Linked DNA regions of Homo sapiens: all the other regions are linked to region 1. Evidence: promoter capture Hi-C in 16 types of primary human blood cells and fetal thymus (Javierre and others, 2016). All regions are on one chromosome and are shown on one strand. Each heading gives the region's core, a stretch centred on a gene start or on the middle of the fragment in contact. The rest is flanking DNA. Distances are from core to core; before and after follow the strand shown.

Region 1 (4,831 bases), core at 1,662-4,161:
ACTTTCTTAAAACATTATGTGATTTTTTTTTGCAACTTTTTTATTTTAGCTCATCAGCTATCATTAGCATTAGTGTATTTTATGTATGGCCCAAGACAAATCTCCCAATGTGGCCCACGGAAACCAAAAGATTGGACACTCCTGCCTTAAACTCAACTGGAGCCCACATTTTCTCTCCCCATCACCCCCAACACAGATCTGCTTCAATAACCACTTTAATATGCTTCCAGCATACCCTTTCAAATTATTTCAACAAACACAAAGCCGGGTACAGCAGTGCGCCTGTAGTCCCAGTTACTTGGCAGGCTGAAGCAAGGGGATTGCTTGAGCCCAGGAGTTTGAGGATGTAGTATGCTATGATCGCAGCTGTAAACAGTCACTGCATTCCAGCCTGGGCAACACAGCGAGACACCATCTCTTAAAAACAAAAACACAGAGTGTCTACTATATGCTTGTACTACTCTAGTCACCTGGGTATAAGGGAATAAACCAAATCTCCCCCTTTGTAAAACTTACATTCTAATTGGAGGAGACAACATGAGAAAGAAATTACATAGTAAATATTAGGGGGTGATAAGTGTTAGTAGAAAAAAAGTAGAAGGAGGGGAATCAAGCATGCCAGGGGCTGTAATTTGAAAGTTAGGTTACAGAGGGCCTTGTTGAGGAAGTGACATTTAAGCAAGACGAGTGAGTGAGGAGAAAGGAAGCCATGTGGGTACTGGGGGAAAGAGCAGTGCAGGCAGAGAGAACAGCTACAGCAATATCCCTGGGGTGGGATCATTCTTGGGGTGTTGAAAGAAGCATGTGAAGGTGAGTGTGGCAGGAACACAGTGAATGAATAGTAAAATTAGCAGGAAGTGAAATCATAGGTAACTAGTTTTCTTGTTACCAATTCTAACAGGCTGAGACCTCATGGATCTGGTCATAATTGTATTTATGTATAACAGTATAGTCCTTCTAGATTGTAAGCCTTCAAGGAACTCTTCTGTCTTGTTCACTGCTGCATTCCCACTGCTAAGCACAGTGCCTGGCATACAGAAGATGCCCAATAAATGTTTGCGTGAATGAACAATACAAAGATCATTTTTTGAGTGCTTATTATGTGCTACACATGGGCTTTGCAACCCCATTTCTTCAGCCCCAGCTCTGAAGAGGAGGGGAGATGAGTCCTTAAGTATCATTCCAGGCAGCCATGGGTAAAGGGAGAAGAGTGTTGGAAATGGTGGTGTTTTTACACACTATCCTCATGGAATGGACTTACTCTGTGAGGAGAGAGCTCTTACGATCAATGAACTTGAGAGCTTCTGCCAGTGTCAACTCCAGGAAAAAACCATATCCCAGGGCCACATAGATGCGTGAAGTATCTGGGCTGAGGAAAGAGAGGTTAGAGGAAGTGGGGAGAAGTCCTTATCACTGTTTAGCATAGTTTATGTTTTGCTCCCCACCCTTCCCCAAATTGAGGCTCTGGGAAGGCAGGGATTTTGTCCTATTTTATTCACTGTCACATCCCCAGCACCTAGCTTATATCCTACTGGGATATAAAACCTCGCATAGTGCCTGGTACATAGAAGATACTCAAAAAAATATAAGTTGCATGAGGGAAGGGGTAAGCTGAACCCTGTGGGCTCAGAGGGGCGGGTAGACACTCACACCACTGTGTCAACGAAGAAGTTACAGCCCAAATCCACCTGCATATATAACTCCGAGTGCTTAGCTTCCTGTGGGGCCAGGGAAAAAGAGGTAGGGGTCAGTGGTGAACTCTTAGGTCAGGTGACAGGGTTGGGTCTGGAGTCTCTCTTCCCATTTCCCTCCCTTGCCCACACATACCAAAAAAATGGTACCCAATCCCATAGTCTTTACCTGGAGTCGCTCAATGACATTTCTCAGTTGAAGGTATTTGGCCAGCTGCTCATATACCTTGTCTCGATGGTCCAGCACCTTTCTGATGGGACGAAAGTACAATGGTGACCAATAGGCAGCCCCATTCCTCCTAGTATACCTCATATCATGACCCTCTGAGACTCTCATGTCACCATACACTGAAAAGGCTTTTTAGTGCATAAGTTAATTTTCGGCTCTGGGTCAGACTGCCTGGGTTTGGATCTGGGCTCTATCCTTTATAGATGTGTGACTTTGGCAAGTAAATAACCTGTTTGGGACTCAGTTTCCCCATTTATAAAATACAGATGACAGTATTACCTTGTAGAGTCATTAGGATTAAATGAGCGTTTACTACAAAGCATCTAGAATAATGCTTATCAAATGGTAAACTCTCTATATACATGTTAGTTATAATTACTATTATTATACTCCCAATACTGAACTCCAATCATAATGTCCCATCCTCACCCTAGAAAAATCCTCCATCCCTTTTAGGATGCTCATAGGCCTAGTTCTGAACACCTTATTTCCTGCTTAGATTAACAAAGATTGCAATAATATTTCTTCATACTCATTGAACCTCTACTATGTTTCAGGCATCCATGCTAAATTCTTGACAAAGATGGGACACATCAAAAACTCAAAACCACTGCATGGGGAAGGTTCCAGAAAACTCCCCATTTCACAGAAGAGTAAAGTTTATAGGGCACAGAAAGGCGAGGTAGGACGTATTCACAAGGATGAAGAATGGCCGAGCCAGGATTCGAACCCGAGAACTGTGGCTCCAGAAAACAAGCCTTAATCTGTTAAACATCGGAGGCCGCGCATGCGCTGACACGCCCCTGCTATGAACGCCACGTCCCAGCCAAACTGCACCCCGGATGTCGTCCCCACTTCTCGCTCCAAGGAGCGCGGGGCCGGACTCTGAACGCCTCGCCCGCCAATTCAAAGGGTTGGCCCTAACTTTGAACGCCCCACCCACCACGTGGAATGTTCCAAACGCCCCGCCCCCCGCACTGTCACTCACCGCAAGTCCCGCTGCAGCACGTCACTGATGAAGGTCTCGTAGCGCAGCACTTTCTCCCCCGTGGCCTCCACCGCCCGCCGCTTAGGGGGCGTCGCCATGATGGGCTCCTGGGGAGTGGGGAGGGGGAAGACCATGTTGACCGATCCAGTTTGGCCTCACACACAGTTCATCTCTACCCTCTCAACGCTGGGAATCGGCTTGTCCGGCTCAAGCTGGAGGTTCAGCCTTCCGCCCCTCCCAACTCGGGGACCCGACCACCCAGGGACACCCAAGCGCGGCCTTTACCTCAGGCCGCCAGCAATAAGAACGGTTGGTAGGAACCGCGGCTTCCGGGTGGCGCGGGTGAATGACGTAAGTGGCAAGCGCGCTGGCCAACCAAATAGCCAGTTGGGGAGGGGCGGGCCTGAGTGGAAGAAGACGGGCCAAAGGGGAGAAGAGAAGGGCAGGGCTTCACGGAATCCGAGGAGATCAAAGAAGACTAGGGCGTGCGAGCAGGGGCCGTCTGGCAATAAACCGGCCAATGGGGGACTGCAAAAGCGGCGCCTGGAGCCTATGGAGACCGTGTGTGGCTGGTGGGGGTGGGATTTAATGGGATTTGGCGGGTTCTAAGGTAGGCGCGACGCACAGGTGGAGGTAGAGGAAGTGAAGAGTTTAATATTTAAAAGGACCTAAAAATTGACTATGGTTCTGGTCTATAAGGAAGATCCCGTGTGATCTGTCGGCCTGGATATTGATTTTTCACACGGGAGGTTTGGATTTCACTCCTGGCAATGGGACTGAGTATAAGCATTTAAAAGGTTTTAAACAGAGACAGGTTTTCTAAAATTCATCTTTGATAACTCCAGCTCTGCACTCGCAACCCATAAGTGAGGCTCAAGTGGAAATTGACAACACTCTCTGTCTAATCACCTCGTTTGATAGTCAAATGGAGAGGGTGGCTGAAGTCCTCTGCCGAAGATTGGCCATCTTGTAGTTAGGCATAGTTCCCATGTTTTTATTTAAATGGTAAGGTTTTTGTGAATTTATTCTTATGCACTAGAGTGACTGAGTGAATTTATTTTTCAGGTTAGATTTTCAAACAAGAACTTATAACCCAGCAAGAATGGGCCTTTGCCTGGAGAAGAATCCAGACCATGGGATGAATCCCCAAATGCTATTTCCATCTGTAGAGCCTAGAGCACCCACCCCTACCAAGGAAGTCTTCCCAGATAATTTGTGTTTCATATGTAAAAGCAAGTTTTTTTTTTCAAATGCTCAAAACCCAAGCAAGTTAAGCCCTTCCTTCCTTCCTTCCTTCCTTTCTTTTCTCTCTCTCTCTCTTTCTTTCTCTCTCTCTCTCTTTCTTTCTTTTTTTTCTTTTTTAGACAGGGTCTGTGTCCCCTAGGCTGGAGTGCAGTGGTATGATCATGACTCATTGCAGCCTCAACCTCCCAGGCTCAAGTGATCCTCCCGCTTCAGCCTCTGGAGTACCTGGGACTACTGGCATACACCACCACGCCCATCTAATTTTTAAAAAAGTTTTTGTAGAGACAGAGTCTCACTATGTTGCCCAGGCTGGTCTCAAACTCCTAGGCTTAAGTGATTTGCCCACCTCGGCCTCCCAAAATGCCGAGATTATAGGCATGAGCCAGCACACCTGGCCAAGTTAAGCTTTTCTTTGCCCTTAGAACGAGATAATTGTAAAATGAAAACATTGAGATTAGTTTTTTTGGTCTGTAAATCTCATGTTACATATAGTTTAAATTACATTGAGTGTGATTGGAATAGATACTAGGTAGAAAAATATTATCTAGTTAATCTATACCACTTTCCTGTGAAAAGAGAGAAAAGAAGACACATATTTATTTAACAGAGAACACAATTCTGATGGGCTGGAGATGAGTCTGTGTAAGTCTATTAACTTATATTTCACAAAAAAGAATT
Region 2 (4,831 bases), core at 1,869-4,368, 850 kb after region 1:
ATTTCGAGACTAACTGAACCCTCCTGCCTCCTGATAACGCTGAGAACACAGCGTCACTTCTGTGGAATTCCTGCCAAAAATGCAGAATTCAAATCTAATCATGAGGAGACATCAGATAAACCCAAATTGAAGGACATTCTTCCAAAGAACTGGTCTGTGCTCTCCCAAAACATCAAGATCATGAAAGTTAAGTGAAGATGGAGACATTGTTCCACATTGGAGGAGACTAAAAAAACCTGATAACAGAATGTATCTTGTGACCCTATGATTCCCTTTTCCTATACAAGGACACTATTGACATGCCCACCAGGGTGGCTAGAACCAAAAAGTCAGATAACAAGTATTTGTGAGGATGTGGAGCAATGGAAACCTCATACTATGCTGGTAGCAATGTAAAAAAAGAAAAAAAAGTCCTTGCTCTTAGGATATTCATACTGAAGTATTTAGTTAAAAGGGTGTCATATCCGCAACCACTAACAAATAATTCAGAAAAATCACTGTATATCATTCAGAAAAATTATATATATGTAAATTACATATGTATATACATGGGGAGAAAGAAACGGACAGAGACAGAGAGAGAGCAAATATGTTATCATTATAAGGCTTGGCATTTTTGTCAGTCCCATAAGTGAAAAATAGTATATCATTGTTTTTAATTTGTATCTCTTTAATTATGGAGAGCTCATCTAAAACACCCCAGAAACCACAACCTAGAATGACCACAGACATTTATTGAGTGTCCACCCTCTACTAAGCTCCAGTGATAAAAATATGAAGCACAACATCTGGTAGATGTAAAATGGTATTATATCTCACTGTTGTTTTAATTTTACATTTCCCTGAGCAGTAAAGAGATTGGGTTATCTTTTCATATATTATACATATTGACCATTTTAGGTTTCTTCTGCTGTGAATTACCTATTTGTACCCAATGTCTATTGCCAAGTGTATTGTTTGTCCTCTTCGGATTTGTAGATGTTCGTTATATATCCTAAAACCTAGATCCTACTTCTTTGTGACACAGGTCAAAAGCCTAGATGGAAACAATCAAGTCCGCAAAGCCCAGGAGCACATGTGGTAAGAATCTTCCAGTTTTAAATGCCAAGTCTTGCAATTGAGGGAAGTATTTCTGGTAGGTGCTGTGGGTCATTGTTGACTCAACTTGAGTGGGTTTGACAACTGAGAAAAAAATTAAAATGAAATTTAATTCATAAAATGTATGTCCTGTATTCTGCTGTTAAGGAAAAGAATTGATATTTGTGCATCTGGTCTAAGCTATTATTCCTTATATATACATATTCTTACCGTATTAAATGTTTTTTGTTTGTAATACATGAATACTAATTTATGAGCTAGAACTCCATTTAACTTCATGTTAAAATAGAGAGAAAATATACATTTCTCTTCAATTACCATTGGTGTTTCCCAGCAAAAACCTGCCAAGCCCACTCTTTTGTTTAACAGAAAAGGACAATGGAGACGGGTGAGTGAACATGACTTGCCCAGCTCCATACAGGCCATTGTTAATCTGATTAAAATCTGTTTCAGTTGGCTGCCCAGGTCAGGGTGGCGTCCAGTTTGACCTGGGCTTCCTTCTCCCTTCCACGTCACAGCTAAGCATGTAGTGCAGTAAGCGCCCAGTAAGTGCTCTTTTGGAAAAATAGGCCCTTCATCAGCCTAGGTACAAAGGGGAATGCCTAGAAACTGCAGCAGTAGGGTAGGTAGAAGGCGGGTGCTACATAAATCTTTAGTGTTGGTGCAGATAGAGGTGCGGATGGGGCCAGTGTAAGCGCTTTCTTTTTTATTTTATTTATTTATTTATTTAGAGAAGGAGTTTCGCTCTTGTTTATTTATTTATTTATTTTGGAGAAGGAGTTTTGCTCTTGTCACCCAGGCTGGAGTGCAATGGCGTGATCTCGGCTCACTGCAACCTCCGTCTCCTGGGCTCAAGTGATTCTCCTGCCTCAGCCTCCGGAGTAGCTGGGATTACAGGCGCCCAGCTAAATTTTTTGTATTTTTAGTAGAGACAGGGTTTCGCCATATTGGCCAGCCTGGTCTCAAACTCATGACCTCAGGTGATCCATCCGCCTCGGCCTTCCAAAGTGCTGGGTTACAGGTGTGAGCCACCACGCCCAGTCTTTATTTATTTATTTTGAGACGGAGTTTCGCTCTTGTAGCCCACAATGACGCGATCTTGGCTCACTGCAACCTCTGCCTCCTGATTCTCCTGCTTTAACCTCCCGAGTAGCTGGGATTACAAGCGTGCGCCACCACGCCTGGCTAATTTTTGTATTTTTAGTAGAGACGGGGTTTCGCCATGTTGGCCAGGCTGGTCTCGAACTCCTGACCTCAAGCTATCCTCCTACCCTTGGCCTCCCGAAGTGCTGGGTTTATAGGCGTGAGCCACCGAGCCTGGCCCTTAAGAGCTTTATAAATGCCCCCCTTTTAAGTGCTCGGTACTAGCCTCCCTCTAGTTCACAGAGAACATTTACTAGTCGCTGGGGTCACCTTCGAAGCAAAGAGTCTGCTGGGGAATTAAGCATGCAAATCACTTCTCAACGACGACACGCCAAGTGCTCACAGCTCGTCCCCAGGGGAAGCACAGGCGCCTAATTTGTGTTCCTAGGTGACACAGTCATTACTTATAAATGTTCCTGGCCGGTCCCAGGAGGTGGGAGGGTTGGGAGTTACTTCGGTTCTCTCAAAGGTTGGGGAAGGAGAGATCTCGGTTTGTTTTCCCATCTGTGAAACGGGGACACCACGGTATTTAGAGGACGTGCGCGGGTGACTATTTGGGGGTGCAGCGGCTTCCCTCCTCCCTCCCCCATCTTTCCCTTCTCACTTCCAAGGCTTGGAAATTTGGAGATTCGGAAGTTTGTTCTTGGATGGCCAGAAATCCTCCGGAGGCAGACGGTCTGGGGCTGAAACCGCCACAGGCCGGAAAGGTGCGGGCGTGAACGTCCTGCGCGCCGACGTCCCCCCGCGCCGGTCTCCCCTCAATCCTCCTGCTCCCCTCCTCCGCGTCCCCGTCCCCGCCCCCCTCCTGCTCTCCCATTGGCCGAGCCGGCGGCCGGGCCGCCCCGGGATTTAAAGGGCCCGCTCGCCGCGCCGCTCTGGGAGCCGCTGCTGGTCCCGGCCTTGCGGCCTGCGGGGGAGGCTGCCCGGAGGAGGCAGCGGCGGCGGCAGCGCGTCCTCGGTCCCCAGGACCACGGCTTCTTTCCTGCCAGGTAGGTCGCCAGTAGTGCGCACGCGGCTCCCCAGCTCCCATCCCTGGGCCGGCCTCCCCAGGCGGATCTGTAGCGCGAGTGCTAGGACCCCCTCCCCATCACCTTTCCGACTCTCCCTCAGGCTATGTCTCCTACCACCACCTCCTTGCAGCCCCCGGACCTGGGCAGGACTTTGTTGGCGGCCTCTCGCCGGGTGGGGATGAGATGGGGGGCGCGGAGGATACAGGACACCCCCCCTCCCCGTGCCGCCGCATCCATACAAGGAGAGATGCACACGGCCCCCAAGTGTCACAGAATCCCCCTCTCTGCCCTCCACTCAGAGCGACTCTACCTTGGAAACCAGGGATTCCCCTTCCCGTCGCCCGCCCCATTTGATATATGGGCCTGAAATGTATGCCATCCCATCACCATCGGACTGGACTGTTCACAGCACTGGAGAGACAGAGGTCCTTCATTCACTCCAGGTCACAGGCTGTGCGTGTGCATGCCGAACACCCACATGCACACAGTTGGTGGCTCAGTCTGATGTACCTGACTTCTCACGCCTTCCCCCAGTCCTCCAGTACCGTGCCTCTACATGGGCTGGGCAGCCCCAAACTGAAATGTGAGTGCCAGAGTGCATCCTTTAAGCGAGGTCTGCCCCACGGACACCCGCTCCCTCTGTGTCCCTGCTTTGACAGATCTATCCATCTGGCCATCCATCCGTGGGGGTCTGCAATGGCCACCTTTAGCCGCCAGGAATTTTTCCAGCAGCTACTGCAAGGCTGTCTCCTGCCTACTGCCCAGCAGGGCCTTGACCAGATCTGGCTGCTCCTTGCCATCTGCCTCGCCTGCCGCCTCCTCTGGAGGCTCGGTAAGTGCCTGCCATACCGTGTGCCACCATGCCAGGCCATATCAGACCTCCCACATTCATCCATATCGAGCCACACCTTACCCTGTCACATCCTGCCAGGCCCTAGCATGTCCAAGCTGGACCCCAACATGTTCAGCCCCACCACATCCCACCAGGCCAAACCCCATTCCACCATACCACATCCTACTATGCCAGCCACCCCATGCCATGCCACACCGAGCCACATCCTGCCATGCCAAGCCATGCCCTTCAGTATTCCTGAGTTCTGGGATTCCAGAAAGCTGAGATTCTTGGATCTTGGGATTCTGAAATGTCTACATCCCAAGGTTATAAGACATTGGCATGCTGATGTCACAGGGTTATGGAATCCCAAAGTACCATGATTACAGCGTTTGGAGATTCTGACAATTTGAAATTCTCACATTCTAGACTTCTAAAATGTTGGCATTGTGGATTTCTATAATCAGGGCATGATGCGATTTCTGGATTCTAGGATTCTGAAATGTTTCCACAGTCATAGCAGGCCTGTATCTTAATGAAAGATTCCAAGTCCCCAAGATTCCTATAGGAGGCGGAGATTTCTGGAAATCTGAGATCCGAAGGTTCTACACTTTCTTTTTTCTTTCTTTCTTTTTTAATTTTAAATGGATGTTCTATTTTTTCCCAGGTTTATTATTTTGAAATTTTTCAAAGCTACTGAAATGTTGAAAAAATAGTACAGTGAGCACCCACGTATGCATCACCAGAT
Region 3 (3,783 bases), core at 1-2,500, 810 kb after region 1:
CTCAGAAACCCCCATTCAAGGTCCCCATTAGAGCTCAAACTGGCTCAGGAAATCCTTTTCCCAAGTCCTGAATCCCGTTCCTGGGACAGGGAGGGTCTCAAGGAGTCCCATCCCCCACCACCAGCACCCTCCGGAGCCTCCCACCCACACCTGAATTCACTTCCTGGGATCAGGGTACAAAAAGGACCTCCCCATACACGCCATTCCATTCCCCACTAGTGCTAAAATGTCTCCAAGGAACCCCGAGCCCCCTCCCAGGACCCCTACTCATATCTCAGGCCCCCAGGAACACCATCCCCGCAGCCCACGCTCCCTCCTCACCTACCTGCTCCTCTCAGCTCCTGAAGTGGCCGCAACTCAGACTCAGGTTCGGGCACCCTCTCGGCTGCCTAGGCTCCTGCTCTGGAGCGGTACTTTTTTTTTTTTCCTGAGAAGAAATGTTAATTTTAATTTCGTTTCCCTCCTTCTGGCCCTGGGCGGGGGAAGAGGTGGAGAAGGGGCGCCCCCTATCTGGACCCACTTGGAGGGAGACAGCGGTTTGTTTGTGTGTTGATGGTGGGGGAAATGGCCTGAAAGATTGAGGGTGTAGACCCACAGCTAGAGAGAGTGACAGGCAGACAGAGGGGATGGACTCACAGAGCAGACGGACAGCAGGATGGGATGGATGGCAGAAAAAGGTGCAGAGAGGAGACAGAGAGAGAGTAGGAGAACTGAAGTTACAAAGAAAGCAGGCATGAGAAACAGCACAGGAACAGACAGACCACAGAAGGGACAGAAAGACAGATGGGCGGGAGGAGGGGATGCTAGGGGAGCTTGGAAGACAGGCAGAGACAGGGAGAAAGGGACACACAGGCAGACTCAGAAACAAACAGGTGGGTAGGGATAGGCTCGTGGAAACACCTGCAGAAAGGCAACAGGCAATTGGGCTCAGTCATAGACAGGAGACACAGGCTGGCCAAGAGGTGGGGGACAGAGCCAGACAGCTCCCCAAACAGAGGGTAGGACCAGACACACCAGCTCAGAGAGATGAAGGGGCAGAGAGAGTGGTTGAGGCAGAGAGACTCCTGGAGGGACAGGAGAAAAGAGGCAGAGAGAGGCAGATTCAGGCAGAGAGGCCTGGGGACAGCAGGGGAACAGGTGCAGGGGTAGTAGCCAGGCTATTCCAGGCAGACCTCAGGCAGACAGCCTAGGCACGAGAGGACCCTAGATCTTGGGGGCCCCCAGAGGGAGGCAGGGAGGGCATTTGTGGCTGGGTGGGGAATGTGGACTGTGAACTCACACTGTCCGCAAACTGGGCGGGCACTGTAGTCCTGGACCCCACCCCAAGCGTGGGGTGGGGCTTGTCCAAGCCCTGAGAAGTCCCACTATCTGTCTGTCCGTCTGTCTTCTATGGGAGTCCGTCTGTTCACTCCCCTCCAGGCATATGACAGGCATGCCTGTCCCAGGCAAGCCACGTGTCCGCTACAGGATGTCAGGCAGGGTGGACTTGGGGTCTGGGACCACCTCGACTGGGCTGCTTGAAGCCCAGGTGGACAAGAGGCCTCTGTCTGGGCCCCTCGCCCGCCTGCCCACCCCCGACAGGGAACACAGAATTCCCGGAAAGGCCAGGAGCTGGCTGGGGCTTCAAAGCTGGCCTAGATGCCCTCACCCCACCCACAGTTGGAGGAGGACAAGGGATGGGGCGTTTACTTCCCCACAGCGGGAGAGAGACTCCTGCACACTCAGGAATCGCAGCTACACAACAGGACCCATCACAGCCCCATCAAGGGGCTCAGATACGGGGGCCAACTCGCCATCACTCACAGAGGTGCACAAAGACTCACAGCCACACAAGAGAATAAAGACTGACAGACATGAACACACACAGACTCACCACTGCACGTTAAGAGCAATGGCTCATGGGACAGTCACACACGTGGCCACACAGAGTGACGATAGTCTTACAGCTATCAATACCGACAGGCTCAGAGCCGCTCACAGAGAGCACAGACTAACACAGGGATAGGCTTGTGCCGATTTCCAGACACTCGAGACTCCTGAACCTCACCGCCCGTGGACCCACAGCCATGCCAAAGACAATCAACAGGCAAATCACACACACAGATTCACAGCCACACACAGAGCACACAATTACACACAGCTGATGACATTGTGTGTGGGTCCTGGGTCTTTCCCACACACACGATCCAGGTTCAGATGGCCCTGGATCTGAACCTGAATCCAGGTTCAGATGACCCTGGAGGCAAACTTCCAGGTTCAAGCCCTAAAATGATATCTCTGTGTATGTGAACTTGAATGTGCACTTGTGACCACATGTAACCACATACAGCTCCAGTCACAGAGAGAGGCACTCATAGGCTGACATGATTTTTGTACAAACAGAAAAGCCATAGTCTCCTTCTCTCTCTCTCTCCTCTCTCTCTCTCTCTCACACACACACACACACACAACTGCATTTCAGCAAATGGCTGCACACAGCCGTGTACACACACAGCTAGTCACAAATCAAGTCAGAAAAGAAACATATAGGGAAAGCATATACCTGCACACAAACACAAAGCACAGGAATGCAGAGTACGCTTACTATCGTTGCAAAGAAAAAATCCAGAAACCACACTGAAAGCTACACAAGGAAAAAACAAGAGAACCAGATAGTACTCATACCATGGCACCAGAAGAAACACCCCGAGGGCACACATACCTGCAGCCACTCGCTAAGAAGAGACACAAATACAGCAGCAGACACACAAAGAAAGATACGTGCGCATAGATACACATATAGGAGGGACAAGTACTCTGACACACTTGTCACCCACGACCATTACAAAGGAGACAAACACCCAAGCAACACACACACACAACAACATATAGATGAACTGCACCGACAGACAGTACCAATGCACACGGTTGCCAAAAAAAAAAAAAAAAAAAAGGTATGAGTTGGGCCGGGTGCAGTGGTTCATGCCTGTAATCCCAGCACTTTGGGAGGCCAAGGTGAGTGAATCATGAGGTCAGTAGTTCGAGACCAGCCTGGCCAACGTGGCGAAACCCCGTCTCTACTAAAAATACAAAAAAAATTAGCTGGGCGTGGTGGCGGGTTCCTGTAATCCCAGCTACTCGGGAGGCTGAGGCAAGAGAATTGCTTGAACCTGGAAGGCGGAGGTTGCAGTGAGCCAAGATCGCGCCACTGCACTCCGGCCCAAGCGACAGAGTGAGACTCCATCTCAAAAAAAAAAAAAAAAAAAAGCACAAGTTTGGCAGGCGGCCATAGACAGAACGCAGCACCAGGCAAGTTACATAGGAAGACGCAGGCACAGCTCACATACGTGTGGCTGTGGCTGAGAACGGGCAGGTGAGATACACTCAGCATATTCACACACACGTGCGCACACACTCCTGCCCAACCTCCTCCAGCCTCTGTCTCCTTTCCTATCTACTCTGATTTCTCTCTCCCCTCATACCCCTCCCCCACCCAGAGCCATTACACATCTGTGCTACCAGCTGGCCAGGGAAAGAGACACCTGTCACTAGAGGCTTTGACCCAGATGGCTAAAGGTCGGGGGGTGGGGGGGATGCAGGTATCCATATTTCAAGTCTGAAGTGTCCCGTCCAAATAACTAGCATACTTTATTTGGATTTAAAAAAAAAAAAAAAAGACAACCCCCCTCCCCTCTGCATCCATTCGCCGCCTCCCTGCCACAGCCTCCTGCTCTGATTGCTCCCCTTCCCTCCCAGGGCCTGCCTCTACTGGCCTTCCAACATGGACCAACACAGGGCTACCAG

What was found. Contacts are between HindIII fragments. The CHiCAGO score rates a contact against its expected background, and 5 or more counts as called.
Region 2: a contact is called between the fragment with the promoter of PORCN here and the fragment with the promoter of UXT-AS1 in region 1, in 4 of 17 cell types (monocytes, M1 macrophages, total B cells and 1 more). The highest score is 6.5, in monocytes.
Region 3: a contact is called between the fragment with the promoter of SLC38A5 here and the fragment with the promoter of UXT-AS1 in region 1, in 6 of 17 cell types (fetal thymus, naive B cells, total CD4 T cells and 3 more). The highest score is 9.2, in fetal thymus.

What each region holds. Positions count from the first base shown.
Region 1 is chrX:47,655,922-47,660,752 of GRCh38, forward strand. UXT-AS1 (UXT antisense RNA 1) reads left to right here and starts at 2,912. Exons shown (of 2, transcript NR_028119.1): 1 at 2,912-3,259; 2 at 3,974-4,190. UXT (ubiquitously expressed prefoldin like chaperone) reads right to left here and starts at 3,259. Exons shown (of 7, transcript NM_004182.4): 1 at 3,194-3,259; 2 at 2,909-3,015; 3 at 1,861-1,942; 4 at 1,651-1,718; 5 at 1,262-1,369. The coding sequence starts at 3,006. RefSeq lists enhancers at 2,603-3,106, 3,091-3,350, 3,107-3,608 and silencers at 2,831-2,910, 3,189-3,528. The HindIII fragment of the contact is 4,632 bases long and covers 1-4,556 here.
Region 2 is chrX:48,505,874-48,510,704 of GRCh38, forward strand. It overlaps PORCN (porcupine O-acyltransferase), which reads left to right and starts at 3,119. Exons shown (of 15, transcript NM_203475.3): 1 at 3,119-3,230; 2 at 3,911-4,083. The coding sequence starts at 3,948. PORCN-DT (PORCN divergent transcript) reads right to left here and starts at 2,966. Exons shown (of 2, transcript NR_135596.1): 1 at 2,846-2,966; 2 at 653-1,182. RefSeq lists a silencer at 2,946-3,345. The HindIII fragment of the contact is 7,257 bases long and covers 1-4,831 here.
Region 3 is chrX:48,469,010-48,472,792 of GRCh38, forward strand. It overlaps SLC38A5 (solute carrier family 38 member 5), which reads right to left and starts at 1,251. Exons shown (of 17, transcript NM_033518.4): 1 at 1,173-1,251; 2 at 326-427. The HindIII fragment of the contact is 10,592 bases long and covers 1-3,783 here.